Linked DNA regions of Homo sapiens: region 1 is linked to region 2. The links are contacts of gene promoters, found by promoter capture Hi-C in blood cells and fetal thymus (Javierre and others, 2016). All regions are on one chromosome and are shown on one strand. Each heading gives the region's core, a stretch centred on a gene start or on the middle of the fragment in contact. The rest is flanking DNA. Distances are from core to core; before and after follow the strand shown. Region 1 has its middle 24 kb from the start of CRYM. Region 2 holds the start of POLR3E (RNA polymerase III subunit E).

What was found. The method cuts DNA at HindIII sites, captures the fragments that hold promoters and counts their contacts. A CHiCAGO score of 5 or more calls a contact.
Region 1: a fragment that was not itself captured here is called in contact with the fragment with the promoter of POLR3E in region 2 in 1 of 17 cell types (erythroblasts); the score reaches 5.1 in erythroblasts.

The regions. Positions count from the first base shown.
Region 1 is chr16:21,300,180-21,303,423 of GRCh38, forward strand. It overlaps a transcript of CRYM not described here and the pseudogene ABCA15P. Among named protein-coding and RNA genes, the nearest start is that of CRYM, 24 kb to the left of the region's middle. RefSeq lists a silencer at 1,507-1,766 and an enhancer at 2,209-2,797. The HindIII fragment of the contact is 2,136 bases long and covers 559-2,694 here.
Region 2 is chr16:22,296,011-22,299,060 of GRCh38, forward strand. POLR3E (RNA polymerase III subunit E) reads left to right here and starts at 1,399. Exons shown (of 21, transcript NM_018119.4): 1 at 1,399-1,527. TRL-AAG2-4 (tRNA-Leu (anticodon AAG) 2-4) reads left to right here and starts at 1,130; the gene lies at 1,130-1,211. RefSeq lists silencers at 1,020-1,469, 2,480-2,619 and enhancers at 1,143-1,687, 2,130-2,269. The HindIII fragment of the contact is 19,375 bases long and covers 1-3,050 here.

The sequences.
Region 1 (3,244 bases), core at 377-2,876, 1.0 Mb before region 2:
CAAGAGATGGCCTCCTCTCACTTTCTCAATTCTCTGTTCTTCCGCCTTCTCACCTCACCCTTCTGTGCCTTTTGTCCTCCAACATACACTTGATAGGAGTGGGGGAGTGGAGGAGAGGCTCATCTGAGTTGGGGGCTGAAGGGGAGATTGCAATGGTAACTGTGTTTTTATTGCTGTTGTTAAAGGTGTTTGGCATTTTGGAGCAAGCTAAAGAGCAATTTGATTTAGAAGACTATTCTGTCAGATCACACTGGAACAAGTCTTCCTGACCTTTGCTAACCCAGAGAAATCATCCAGTGATGATGAAAACGAGGTGCCATGAGATTCCCTCTTAAAAAAAAAAAAAAAACAGAAAAAGAAAAAAAAAAGAAATGCCCTACACGTGAGTCCCAATAAACTCATCTACTCATCAAGCTGGACTGGTCTGAGTCATTCTTTGGTCTGTTGGCTCCTTTCCCAGTTTGGGGCGGAGGATGTTCTATACAGTCCTGGATTTTTCCCCAACCAGGAAGAGAACTCCTTGTCCTGCAGTGTTCCTCTTGCGCCCTCTCCTGACAAAGCTTAACTTCGGAGCTGGAGCAAGTCGTATCCGGCATTGCAGGGAAGAGTGAATTTGGCCTGTGATCCAATCAGAAGCTGCGATTCTAAACAGGAAGCCACACTGGATGCGAGAATTGGGGTGGGGCGCGCCAAGAGGAGCAAGCATTATAGAACGTGGGGAGCATGAGAAATACACGGAGGTGGAAACGCCGGAGTGGCTGGCGGGTAAAGGCAGCGGGCGCAGATGAAGCGGGCTGGGCGTCCCACGCGCAGAACCGTCCCGGACAGAAGCCGCAGGGCTGCGCTGGCTGGAAAAAGGAACGCGAGTACAGCGCGCGTGGCGCGGGGTCTGCTCCAGGACGGAATCTTTTGGGTGGCCCGCATGAGGGGTTTGCAGGACCCCGGGCCTTTGGGAAGTTATCTGCTAAACTCCAGTAGACCCTGAGGAGCAGCGGCTCATGAATCTTCTTAAACTTCTGTCATCAGCGGCTGGGCCAGCTGAAGGTGACCATGGCACACGAGGGAGAGAGAAGCCCGCGAGAGGCGGAGAAATGTGGGGTCGTCCAGGAGGGTCGACAAGGCAAAGAACCTGAAGACGACCCAAAAGGGTACCTAGGTGGGGCCCTTTCAGGGACTTGGGGCATAGGGTAGGGCGCATGGGACGAGGTGGGTGAGCGCAAGGGACGAGATGGGTGTGCGCATGGGACGAGGTGGGTGGGAGCATGAGACGAGGTGGGTGGGGCGGTGGGTGAGGTCTCCGCCCCCAGACGGGCTGGCGAGGAAGCAGGGAAGAAGTAACGTTGGGCTGGTGAGGCAACAGGTGGGGCGCACTGGAGCTGCGGGATAATAGGTGGAACAAACTGGGGACTACACTCGTGGGCGCACGTGCGGAAGAGGGACTGAGGAGGTTCTTGCGTGCTCCCCTCGAGCACCGCCGACAGCTTCACCCGCACCTCCTGCCTTCCGCACCGCTGACTCCTACCGCTCCGCGCACTGCGCGCCCCCAGCCCTAGTGCAGCCAGCTCCCGGCCGGGTCCGCGCGAGGGCCAGGCTGCCAACCTGCCCGCGGGCGGCTGGTGGTTGGGGAGGGCGTTGGGAGGAGGAGTCCCGCCGGGTGGACGCGCGCCCTTCAGCGGCGGAGGCGGAGGCGGCAGCGGCGAGGCCTGAGGGTGCGTGCTAGGGAGTCCTGGCGCGTCCTTCTTCTGCCGGCGTCCCCCTGCGCTTGCAGCTGCTCCCCGACGCCCGGGAGGCCCACCCGCTAGCCGCGATGGGCGCGCAGAGCCCAAAAGGGCGACCCCCAAACAAAACTCACGCATATAAATCCTCCAGAGACTTCCTCATCCCCCCGCCAACACACACACACCCACACACACATACACACAATCAAATCAAATAGAAGCACTGTTAGGAATTTTATATTGGCTATGCAAAGTGCTTGAACGCACTGACTTTGGAGGCAAATGCCTTGTCCCTAGTCCTGACTAGTCCAGAATTTATTTGCTGTGACCTATGGCAAATTGCTTGGTTTCTCTAAGCCTCCATTTCCTAAGGCTTATATCTGAAAATAACTATAAGAGGAAAGGATGCTATTGTATCCAACTCAGAGGGCAGTCCTGATACTTACATTGCGAGAACATGTTAAGTGTTCCATAAATGGCAGAAGGGGCTGTGGAAGTTCAGTGATTATAGGTAGTTTAATTTGTCTTAGTTTTCCTTTGTGAAAGCATAAATTACACCAGAGAAAGTCACATATGTAAGGAATACTTTATGCAAAGCTGTTGTCCTAGGGAAGAGAGACCAGAACTCAGTCTAAACTAACTCTGCTGAAACAAAGTGGGGCAGGGTTTTTAAGCTCTAGGATGAGAGTAGAAAGGTGCTGGAGGGCTGTCGGAAGCATACTGAGTTGTTTGCTGAGTTTACAAGTGTTTCCTCCGTGATTAGGCCAGCTGTGTTTGCTAATTGGCTCTCAGGGAAGTTAGGCTCCTACCCTCCCACAGAAACTGGGAGATAGGGGGACCGTCTTCCTTGATGATTGCATTTCAAAGGAATGGCTCCCAGGTCCTTGACAAAGATGATTCTGGTTTGTAAAACTAGTAAGAGGCTATTAAAAAGAGTTACAGATATCTCAAGACAGAGAAAGAATTTACAGTGAAAAGCTTTCTAAAGAAAATGCTCTGTATTAATCTGTTTTCACACTGCTGATAAAGACATACCCAAGACTGGGCAATTTACAAAAGAAAGAGGTTTATTGGACTTACAGTTCCACGTGGCTGAGGAGGCCTCACAATCACGGCAGAAGGTGAAAGGTATATCTCACATAGTGGCAGACAAGAAAGCTTGTGCAGGGAAACTCCCCATTTGAAAACCATCAGTTCTTATGAGACTTACTCACTATCATGAGAAGAGCACGGGAACAACCCATCCCCATGATTCAGTCATCACTCACAGGGTCCCTCCCATAACACGTGGGAATTATGGGAGCTACAAGATGAGATTTGGGTGTGGACACAGAGTCAAACCATATCATGCTCTAAGAAAAGAAAGTTTTGGGCCTAGAGTCAGGAAAAAGCCTTTTCAAGTCAAGCTGAGAACTTTAAGGTGGTCTTGGCTACCTCATTTTATGCAAAGTAGGCAGAAAATTTAAAAGAAAAGAAACATATTTAAGTACAATTAAGAAAATTACAGTGTTTCAGTTAAAGCAGTT
Region 2 (3,050 bases), core at 149-2,648:
CTATATGAATAATGTGACAATATTTGTGTTCAAATCCATACACAATAAAAACAAAGCTATCTTCTATGGCTATATCTATATATATCCATATAGATATAAACATATAAATTCACAGCAAAAGATCTAGAAAGATATATAGTGTTTTAGTCCATTTTCTGTTGCTTATAACAGAATACCTGAAACTGGGTAATTTGTAAAGAAAAGGAAGTTATTTCTTACAGTTATGGAGTCTGAGAAGTCCAAGGTCAAGAGTGTGCATCTGGTGAGGGCCTTCTTGCTGGTGGGGGACACCTGCAGAGTTCCCAGGCAGTACAAGCCATCATATGGAGGGGGTGCTGAGCTGCTCCCTTGCTAGCTAAGGTCTCTCTCCCTCTTCTTATAAAGCCATCAGTCCCCCTCCCAAGATAACCCATTAATCCATTAACCCATTAATCCATGAATCCATGAAGAGATTAATCCATTCATAAGGGCTCCACCCTCATGATCTAATCACCTCTTAAAGGGCCCACCACACAATACTGCCACATTGGGGATTAAATTTCCAACACATGAAATTTGGGGGACACATTCAAACCATAGTTCATATTAAACAGATAATAATGGTTAGTTACCTCGGCGGAGGGGCCTAGGATGCGAGTCAAGGTCAAAGAGCATTTGTACCTTATCTGCAAAGTTTAAATATTTTGCAATAATTCGCGTGTTATTTGTGTAAGTAAAAATTTAAACATAATTTTTCAGAGACAACTGCCCAGACCAGCTCCAGGGTTTGGCCGTCAGATCCCCTGGTGCATGTTTCTGATCAGATCAATTTCTTCTCCCGGAGACACCCAATCCGGGTCGTATGGATTACCTGTGGGTTAACCAGGGGTCTCCGGGTTAACCATCCAACTCAGAGTAAAGTTTCTAAAAATGCGTTTTGCTCTAATACCTATTCGGAACCAACCTGGGTCTAAAGACTGGAGCAAGTGTTTATTTTCCAAAACACGGCTTTTTAAAATAATTCTATAGGGATCACCTTGAACACACGTTAAGCAAAAAAAAAACCTCAGCGAAAACGCCTCGCAATGTCCAGATTAAATGCAAAAGCAAAAGCATTAAGTAGCTTTCTGGCATAAACATATTGCAGCTGGGTAGCGTGGCCGAGCGGTCTAAGGCGCTGGATTAAGGCTCCAGTCTCTTCGGGGGCGTGGGTTCGAATCCCACCGCTGCCAGGGTTGCTGTCTTTTTGTCCCCGCTGCATACACTCCTGGCTCAGTTTTGCGCGTGCCATCAGCGCCCCCTGCTGCAGGGCGGGGCTCACGGCCTGCATGAATGGCGCGGCGGAGGGGGCGGAGCCGCGTGCACCGGGGCGGGGCATTGTGGGTAAGAGGAAACGCTGGGGCCGGCCCGCTCCCCCCCACGTGTCCGCCGGAGTTTCTCCACCAGCAACATGGCCGCCGCCTGAGAGGAGAGCCGGGCCGCCGCCGTCTCTGCAGCCCGCGGGTAACTGGGCCGTTGCCGCCGTCCGCGCTCGGCCCCCGCGGAGAGGTGAGTCCCGTCTTGGCAGTGCCCGAGCTGGGGCTTGAGCCGGACCGCACTCACGACGTGGGCCTGGGCTAGATTCCCGAGTAGGCCAAGGAGGCCCGCGCCGCGCTGTGCCTAGCAGCTGGAGGCCTCTCGGGACTCGGGCGGGGAGGAGGGGCAGCCGGCTCCAGGCCGACCCCGGACTCTGACTTCCTTGACCTGACACCTGGGAGTTGGGGAGGCCGCGGCCGACGCTGGCGGCGGTGACTCAGGGTCCAGCCGACCTGCCCTATCCGGGCCTGGGAGGCCTCCTACGGAAGAAACACCTGTCCGCGCGTCGGGTGTAGTGGCGGCTCGCGGCAGGGACTGCGTGGTGGGCGTGAGAAGGGGGGCCTGACCACCCGCGAGGGAGCAGAAACCCATTGGACAGCGAGGCTCGGGATCGGCGGCCCGCCCCGATGGGCAGGGAGGGCACCTGCGCCTGCCGGAGCCCCCACTTCGCAGCTGAACCGGATTAGCCTCTGCCCGGCGAGGCCAGGGATTCCTCATTCATTTATTCAGGCAACCATTCAGTGTTTACCGAGCCAACTCTGTGTTCCGGATACAGCCCTGACCATTCGGTCCGAGGAGGTGTCAGTAAACAAACAAGGTCGTTCCTTTGGGTTAGCTTTAGAATTCCTTGGGCTTGGAGGCGGAAAGAAGAGATCTTAGCGATCTCCACAGTTTCCTCATCTGTGAAATAGAGATAATAGAAATTCCTACCTCATAGGGTTGTGGTGACGGCTCAGTAGAAACCGGGTGACGCTCCTGCTTGCAGCGTTTGACTTGTGGCTTAGCGTCATTACCCGCTTACGTTGGCAGAAAACATGTTGTCAAGTAATAACAAACCTTCCCAGAGGTTACGTTTATTAGCGTCCTGTCCTTACTCCTTCCCCGCAGGGGTCTGGAGGTCGGTACTTAGTTTCCCTACTTTAGGGATGAAAATAGGGAGGAATACCAAACCCAGACAACTCAGGTGGGTCACAGATGCCAAGCAGCTGTGGTGGGATTTGAACCTGCACAGTTTTGTTCTCGGGTCCAAGCTCTTACCCACTTAACCATACTGCCGTTTATCAGAAAACCGTGCAGTATAGTGGTTAAGAATAAGAATAAGGATCTTTGACATAGCGAGACCCAAGTTTCTGTCCTCATTCCACCTTGGATGAGTTGCTTATATCTGAACCTCAGTCTCGTCATTTCCAAATTGAAGATGATAAATCTCTATTGATAGGGCTAATGAGAAGATTAAATATAAAGTATTCTTTGTACTATATTGAGTGTCAACTTCGTGCCAGGCACTGTTCTAGGTATTGAGAGAACCAGCACTGGATTTTTTTTTTAAAGTAATGCTCCCCATAACAGCTTTGATGAAGTAAAGTATGATTGTCTGCATTTCATAGTTGAGGAAACTGAAGCACTGAGAAGCCTTCATGGAGCTTACGTTCTATTGCAGAAGACAAACAACACCTGAGCAAATAGACCAGGTAGTTCCAGATTAAGATGAGACC